Regions from separate parts of the Homo sapiens genome. Here all the other regions are linked to region 3. The links are contacts of gene promoters, found by promoter capture Hi-C in blood cells and fetal thymus (Javierre and others, 2016). All regions are on one chromosome and are shown on one strand. The core of a region is centred on a gene start or on the middle of the fragment in contact, and the rest is flanking DNA. Distances in the headings are between cores, read along the strand shown.

Region 1 (2,700 bases), core at 175-2,674, 380 kb after region 3:
TAGCTTCCTCGTTTGTATTTTAAGAGTGGTGAAAACTGCCTGAAATAATAAACAAGAATCTTATATGTTAATTCAGAGAAGATACAAACCTGGATACACATTCTGGGGCAAATCACCATGGTTTCCTATGTAAAACAGCGATTTCTCCACATTTGTTCAGCATATATACTAACAGTGCTTTGCTGATGTGGTTACAATGAATTCTCCACAATTCAATTCAACAAGTATTTATTGACCGCCTCCAATCCGCCTAGCACTGGCCCGTACAATAAATGCTTTCTTTGGTCCCAGGCCATGGAACAGCCACTCTCTATAATGAAAGTATCTTACTGTGTACAGGGGGCACTGCAGGAAAGGGAGGGGAGGGATGGAGGAGTGTCAAGCTAAACTGTAGTTAATTCTTCAATTACATTGACCAAATCATTTCGAAGTCGGAAGGGCCTTTTGAGAAAATCCAGTTAGTTTTTATTGATGACGAAATTAAGACTTGGTGAGTGTCTCGTCTTATCCAAGGTCACTCAGCTAATCAGTCTCCTAGTGACACAGTGCAATTTCCACAAATTCCCTTCACTTCTCACCCCACTCCATGTCAAACAGAGCAACTATCCAGAATTGAAAAATCCACCTAACGTCCCGGACAGCTCTTTTCCAAAGCCTTCAAAGCATTCCATCAAGCTGAAAGAGTGGGGTGTATATAATCTCTACTAGATCCCAATCACCTATTTATCCACTATGACTAGGCTTCAAATACTCTTTAATCACCGCTCAGTGATGAGGGTGGGAGAAGGAAAGGCAGGTCTGGAAACGTATGCGGCACCTCAAAATGTGTCCATCTCTCATCCTTCCGCTCATTTCACCTCGAGGTCCCGAAGGAACCGGGGGGGGAAAAAGACACCTCACCGGAATCAAAGCAAATGGCGACTAAGGGAGAGCAGAAAAATCAAGACCGGGGTCGGTTCGCTCGCGACCCCGTTTGCAGAAACGTCAAAGGGCGATGACGACACTGCGGGAGAGGGGCCCACAGACGGCTTCTCCCCGGGTCTCCGGGCACCCTCAGCCACTGAAACCCTCGCCCCCTCCCCGCCTGATCCTGGGGGTGGGGCGGGGACGTCTCCCAGGAAGAACGGCGCTTTCTACGGCCGGGCCCGGCCAGGAGGCAGGGGCATGGACTCTCTTCGCACAACAGCGGGGCCGCCTGGAGGGGGTCCCAGGGCCGCAGCTGCGGAGCCCACCCTCGCGCACACACCCTTGCGGCCCCGCCCTCCCACCCCAGAGGCCGGCCCCAAGTCTCACCGTGAGCCCCGGGAGCGGCCTGGGGGCGCTGGGCGAGAAAGGGGAGCTGACTCTGGGGCTCAGGCCGGCCGAAGGGCACCGCACACGGACTTAGGCCCTCCCGACGCCTCGACACAGACACAATGAGTCACAAAGGCCGGAAGCGTGTCACCACCTCGTCTTCCGGGACCGCGCCGCGCTTCCGGGTCCTCTCTAGGAGCGCGGGAGGACTTTGCATCTCGGTTTCCGAATCGCTGGACCAGGCGCCTGCCCTTGAGTTTTCAAGCCTCCAGCTTGGAGGATCAGGTCCCAGTCCGCCCCTAGTTAATGCAGGGACTAACGGGAGCAGGTGGTGGGGGGTTTCAGGCTTTCCCCTACTCAAACTCAAACAGACTCTCCAGCTCAGACACCAGTCCATGTGAAAGTTCGATTTCACCTGTCTTTTTCATCTCAGGCAGTCCTTGTAGTAATTATAGTTATTATCAAGCAATATAGTACTTGGTAATTGTATGTCTGTGGCAAAGGAACTGAAACAAGGATGTAGACTGAGGAAGATCAAAGTGAAGCCAAGGGTGGCTGGTTTCCCAAAGCTGCCACGGTAGCTTCTCTCAGGGCCCTGGAGCTATATGGAGTGGTATTTTCAAATACTTGGCCCGTGGACAAGGGATGTCTTTCCACAAGCAAGCATAGTTATAAGGTTCTGTGCTTTGCTCATGTGGCATATGCTATTATAGCCGTTTAAAAGGAGTTTTCAGAGTAACAACAGACACTTTTACCTTCAAAGTGCTTTCACAACCTACCACAGTTACAGCCTTCATCTTTGCCTTGCAGGGTAAGGCACGCATAAGAGGGGGCCACGTTGTGCAAGGGTGGGGGGGACTACAGGCTTTAATGGTTGTGACTTTCCACTATGTTCCGAGACAAGTTCATGGGAGAAACTCAGTAGCTTGGTTGCATGACTCTTACTGCTTGGAGAGATTTACTTTTTTTTTTTAGATGGAGTCTCGCTCTGTCACCCAGCCTGCAGTGCAGTGGCACCATCTTGGCTCACTGCAACCTCCACCTCCCAGGTTCAAGCGATTCTCCTGCCTTAGCCTCCTGAGTACCTGGGACTACAGGCGCACACCACCATGCCTGGTTAATTTTTGTATTTTTGGTAGAGAACAGGGTTTCACCATATTGGCCAGGATGGTCTCGATCTACTGACCTTGTGATCCACCCGCCTCAGCCTCCCAAAGTGCTGGAATTACAGGCGTGAGCCACCGTGCCCGGCCAGATTTACTTTTTAAAAAATGTTTGAAAACTAAAAAGCAATGACAGGGCCAGACACGATGACTCAAGCCTGTAATCTTAGCACTTCGGGAGGCTGGGACGGGAGGATTCTTGAGCCCAAGAGTTGGAGACCAGCCTAAGCAACGTAATGAGACC
Region 2 (2,700 bases), core at 2-2,501, 290 kb after region 3:
CGTTAAAAAAAGGGAGGTGGAGTGATCAGAACCCAGGAGACCTGAGCTCGGATCCCGATGCCTCTTACTAGTCACAACAGCAGTGCCTTTGGGAGATACATGACATATGCCTGGGCCCAGCTTCCCAATGTGGAAAGGGGGTTAATTACACTAACTACCCCGAGTTGCTGAGGATGGAGTCACGCAGGGAGCTGGGCCTGGTGTGTTGCTGGCGCCCATTGACTCTTTTTTTTTTTTTCCCCACCCCCACCTACCCCGAGAGGGAGTCTCGCTCTGTCTCCCAGGCTGGAGTGCGGTGTCCGGATCTCGGCTCACTGCAACCTCTGCCTCTTGGATTCAAGCGATTCTCAAGCCTCAGCTTCCCGAGTAGATGGGATTACAGGCGCCCGCCACCACGCCCAGCTATGTTTTTTTTTTTTTTGTATTTTTAGTAGAGGCGGAGTTTCACCATGTTGGCCAGGCTGATTTCGAACTCCTGACCTCAGGTGATCCGCCCGCCTCGGTCTCCCAAAGTGCTGGGATTACAGGCGTGAGCCACCGCGCCGGGCCTCACGTTAGCTTTATTTGGCGGAATGCACCCCCCAAGTGGAATCTACCAATGAACCAGTCCTGGGAGGGAGCTGGCGCCCACCCGGCCCGACGGGACCCCGCTCCTCACCCGCCTCCCGCCACTGGTTACCATGACAACCGGGGACTCGTCTCCTGGCAGTCCCGTCAGCTTCCGGTAGAAGAGCTCGGCCACATCCCGGCCGCCACTGTCCCCGCGGACTGGCGGGTGGAAGGACTCAGTGAAGGATCCTGCGACACAGGCTGGCCCTGGGCGCCCCTCCCGCCCGGCCCCTCCGCCCCTTCCCAGCCCCAAGGGTCTAGGATACAGTCTTTGTAGATGAGCGGGTCCCCCTTGGAGGACAGAATGAAGAATTGGGAAATCATGGCCGTTCTGGAGAGTAGACAAGAAGACGGCGAAAGTCGGGCCTGCCCCGCCCTGCGGCCCCGGAACAAAAGAACGCGTGTGCGCTGGCCCTTTAAGAGCGATTCTCCTCCGCCCGCGCCAGCTCGGACCGCGGGAAACCCGGCGCCTGCACTACCCCGCCCGGAGATTCCCTTCCGACGCCCGCACCGCCTCCCCGTCACTCATTCTAGGCCCGCACGGTGATTGGCTTGCGGCTAGCGGGAGGTGAAGAAGGCCGCCTTGTCCGATTGGCCCGCACGCAGTGGCGCCGGTCACGTGGGGGGCGACGTTTCGCGCCAATTTCGGTTGGCCGGCCACAGTCCACCGCGCGGAGATTCTCAGCTTCCCCAGGAGCAAGACCTCTGAGCCCGCCAAGCGCGGCCGCACGGCCCTCGGCAGCGATGGCACTGAAGGACTACGCGCTAGAGAAGGGTACGGGTCTACGAGCCCGGGAGGGCGTCCTGCGCGGGGAGCCTCCCGGGGAACACCTGTTGGTGTGAGCTGGGGTCTTGGGGGACCGGGGTCGGCGGGTTCTGGGGTGCGCGAGGCCAGAGGCAGGGTCGAGCTGCGGCCTGGCTAAGGCCCACGGGGCCTGGGAAGCGTGCGGGGGGCCATCGATGTTGAAGAAAAGCTAGTAATCCCACCTGGTAAAGGTGTTAGGGTCGTGGGGTTGGGGGCTTGGGGGCGCGCTAACCCGGCTGGGGGCTGCACAGGGAAAAGTCGCGCCCAGGACCTCAGGAGAGTCTTAAGGGCTCTGGGCTCCCGTGCCCGCTTTCCTTCGCGCTTTTGGGCATTCCCAGGTTCCCGCGCCCTCCCCAGGCGCGCGTAGGCCCCGGGGGCGGGCAGGCCGGGGCCGCTGCGCGCCGGGATTGGCCGTTTGAGGCCGCCCTCCGAGCGGAAGTGGAGCCGGGCGGAAGTGGCGCGAGGAGGCTGGAGGGAGTGTCGTGTAAACAGTGTCCTTCCGCGCGGCGGCCGCGGAGAGAGCTGCGGCCCGGGGGGGCGTGCCTGGGATCCGGAGCTTCGCTCGGGCCCGGGAAAGGCGGCAGTGGGCTGGGATCGCGGTGTCTCTGGGTGTGATGGCCAATGGCTGGACTGGCTCCCGCCCTGGGCGGAGGAATCCCGAGCTGTGAAGCGGCTGGAATCCGGGCCCATGTGCTTCTTTGTTTACTAAGAGCGGAAGCGATGGCGGGAGCGGGGGTGGGGTGCGGTGGCGGGGTGCGGTGGCGGAGGTCCCGGTGAAATCAGGGGCTAAGGGGACCCAAAGAAGGCGGGGGATCATAGGGGTGGAAAGAAAGCTGAGAACCTTGAGACCGGAGTGTGAGGGGCCAACGGGGAAGGGCGCTAGAATTTTAAACTAAAGTAGGGACCGGAATTCCCCTGGGGAGATGTTGGATGGCCCTGTGCACTGCCACGGGCTCTTTATTCTTCGCTGGTTAGAAACAGACTTGTGAAAAAGAGTTATGCCCACTTTGGGGAGACTTCGGTAGGTTTATTTAAATGCTCATATTATTAATTAGTTCATAGGTCGTGTTTTAAGCGAAAATGGGTATCTAAGATTTGTCTTAAAGTTTGTGTCTTACGGTTTTACATTTCATGTTACAGAAAAGGTTAAGAAGTTCTTACAAGAGTTCTACCAGGATGATGAACTCGGGAAGAAGCAGTTCAAGTATGGGAACCAGTTGGTAAGTCTAAGATTGGGTAAAGGGAATGGGGAGCGGGGTGCTTAAGGAGCCATAAGCAGCAGCTTG
Region 3 (2,700 bases), core at 60-2,559:
TCACTTCTCCCCTCCCCTCCCCTTCCCTTGACATTGGCACCCCGCCCCCATTCCCTCCAGGTCCTCAGGGAGACCGTGCCTGTGCTTTCCTTCTGGGTGGCGGCTATGTCTGCCCTCCAGCCTTGGGAGCGTCGTGCTTGGGACTCATGTTTGTGGCTGTTCAAATTCTGTTGCCACCACTAGGCTTCCCCTCCCCTCTGGCTGGTCCCACCCTGAATCCTCTGCTGCCTCTCCCATTGTGTCCTGCCCCTCCCATCCCCGTGGCATCCTTGCAGTGTTTCCCAAGCAGTGGGCTCCTGGTCCACAGACATCCCCTCCACCATCTAGCCTCCTCCCAGGAGGGCTCCATGTCCACAGAGACACCCTCTGAACCCAGGCCTTGAGGTACCCCTCAACTCCAGGGACCTCCCCTTCCACTTCTACAGGACTTTTTTTTTTTTTTTTAATGTTTAGACTGAGAACTCTGAAATATTAATTGCTAGTATCATTTCCATGCTGCAGCTTTCTTTCCAGCACTCTTCTGTCCCTCTGTTTTTTCCCTCTCTTTAGGTTATGTTTTATTTTACTTACGGTAAAAAAAAAACAAAAAAACAAACAAAACACTAGAATTCACTTTTAACCACGTGTACAGTTCATTAGTGTTAAGTATATTCACACTGTTGTGAAACATCTCCAGGACCTTTTCATCTTGCAAAACTGAAACAGTTTTAAAGAACCCCTACTCCCTCCTCCCTGCGGTTTCTGACAGCCACCATTCTACTTTCTGTTCCTATTAATTTAATATCTCTAGGCACCACCGAAAAGTGGAATCATACAATATTTGTCATTTTGTGACTGCCTTATTTCACCTAGCTTGATGTCTTCCAGTTTCGTTTATACTGTAGTATGTGTCAGAATTTCTTTTTTTCTTTATTTTTTGAGACAGAGTTTCGCTCTTGTCACCCAGGCTGGAGTGCAGTGGTGTGATCTAGGCTCACTGTAACCTCTGCCTCTCTGGTTCAAGCGATTCTCCTGCCTCAAGCTCCCAAGTAGCTGAGATTACAGACGCCCATCACCAGGCCTGGGTAATTTTGTATTTTTAGTAGAGACAGGGTTTCACCACGTTGGTCATGCTGGTCTCGAACTCCTGACCTCAGGTGATCCACCCACCTTGGCCTCCCAAAGTGCTGGGATTACAGGTGTGAGCCACTGCACCTGGCCCAGAATTTCTTTTAAACACTGAATAATATTCCATTATATGTATAAACCACATTTTGTTCATCCATTCATTCATTGATGGACATCTGGGTTGCTTCCACCTCTTGGCCATTGAAAATAGTGTTGCTATCAACATGGGTGTATCAATATCTCTTCAAGACCTTTCTTTTCAGTTCTGTTTGGTATGTACCCAAAAGTGGGATTGCTGGATCGTATGGTAGCTTTATTTATTTATTTATTTATTTATTTTGAGATGAAGTCTCGCTCTGTCATCCAGGCTGGAGTGCAGTGGCACAATCTCAGCTCACTGCAACCTCTGCCTCCCGGGTTCAAGTGATTCTCCTGCCTCAGCCTCCTGAGTAGCTGGGATTACAGGTGCCCGCCACCACACCCAGCTAATTTTGTATTTTTAGTGGAAATGGTGTTTCACCATGTTGGCCAAGCTGGTCTCGAACTCCTGGCCTCAGGTGATCTGCCACCTCAGCCTCCCAAAGTGCTGGAATTTGAGGTGTGAGCCACCACTCCTGGCCTTTATTTTTAAATTTTTGAGGAAAGGCCATGCTTTTTTTCTGTATCATTTGCACTATTTTATAGCCCCCATCAACAGTGCGCAAGGGCCCCAATTTCTTCACATTCTTCCCAACACTTGTCATTTACACACTTTTTAAATAGTAGCTGTCCTTCTGGGTATAAGGAGATAGCTCTCTGTAGTTCTGATTTGCATTTCTCTGATGATTAGTTGGCCATTTTCATCTGCTTGTTGGTGATTTGTATACTGTCTTAGTCTATTTTGTGCTGCTAATGTATATAAGAATATCTGAGCCTGTATAATTTATAAAAAAACAAATTTGTTTCTTCTGTTGGACAAGAGGTTGCTGAAAAGTAAAACAAAGCAAAGCAAAGCAAAAATTATTTCTCACAGTTCTGGAGGCTGGGAAATCCAAGATCAAGGTGCCAGCATCTTGCTTTTTGCTGTGTCTTTCAGAGGGGAGGATTACTGTGTCCTCACATGGCAGAAGATTAGAAGACAGTGAACCCACTCCTGAAATCCCTTTTTATAATGGCATTAATCCGTTTGGCAGAGCCGTCATGACCTAAGCACCTCCCAAAACACACTACCTCCCAGTTGTCACACTGGGGACTAAGTTTCCAATACATGATTTGAGGAGACACATTTCAGACCATAGCATATATCATCTCTGGAGAAATGTCTGTTAAAATCCACTGCCCACTTTTAAATTGGGTTGATTTTTTTGTTGTTGAATTATAGGAATTTTTATATATTTCAGATTTTCACTCCTTATCAGATATATAATTTACAAATATTTTCCCCATTCTATAGGTTGCCTTTTGATTCTATTGATTGTGTCCTGTAATGAAAAAACATGTTTAAGTTTAATGTTGTCCTATTTGTCTATTTTTTCTTTTGTGGCTTGTGCTTTTGGTATCACAGGCAAGAAATTATTGCCAAACCCAGTGTCATGAGGCTTTTTCCCTATGGTT

Evidence for each region. Contacts are between HindIII fragments. The CHiCAGO score rates a contact against its expected background, and 5 or more counts as called.
Region 1: a contact is called between the fragment with the promoter of ZKSCAN1 here and a fragment that was not itself captured in region 3, in 1 of 17 cell types (non-activated CD4 T cells). The highest score is 5.1, in non-activated CD4 T cells.
Region 2: a contact is called between the fragment with the promoter of MCM7 here and a fragment that was not itself captured in region 3, in 1 of 17 cell types (total B cells). The highest score is 6.2, in total B cells.

What each region holds. Positions count from the first base shown.
Region 1 is chr7:100,014,320-100,017,019 of GRCh38, reverse strand. ZKSCAN1 (zinc finger with KRAB and SCAN domains 1) reads right to left here and starts at 1,424. Exons shown (of 6, transcript NM_003439.4): 1 at 1,294-1,424. RefSeq lists a silencer at 1,169-1,338. The HindIII fragment of the contact is 19,683 bases long and covers 1-2,700 here.
Region 2 is chr7:100,099,948-100,102,647 of GRCh38, reverse strand. It overlaps MCM7 (minichromosome maintenance complex component 7), which reads left to right and starts at 1,251. Exons shown (of 15, transcript NM_005916.5): 1 at 1,251-1,384; 2 at 2,555-2,634. The coding sequence starts at 1,354. It overlaps AP4M1 (adaptor related protein complex 4 subunit mu 1), which reads right to left and starts at 1,005. Exons shown (of 15, transcript NM_004722.4): 1 at 876-1,005; 2 at 680-768. The coding sequence starts at 933. RefSeq lists enhancers at 927-976, 999-1,551, 1,897-2,056 and a silencer at 1,687-1,786. The HindIII fragment of the contact is 6,263 bases long and covers 1-2,700 here.
Region 3 is chr7:100,394,871-100,397,570 of GRCh38, reverse strand. All of the region lies in intron 3 of PILRA (paired immunoglobin like type 2 receptor alpha), which reads right to left. Among named protein-coding and RNA genes, the nearest start is that of PILRA, 23 kb to the right of the region's middle. RefSeq lists an enhancer at 667-716. The HindIII fragment of the contact is 3,900 bases long and covers 1-2,700 here.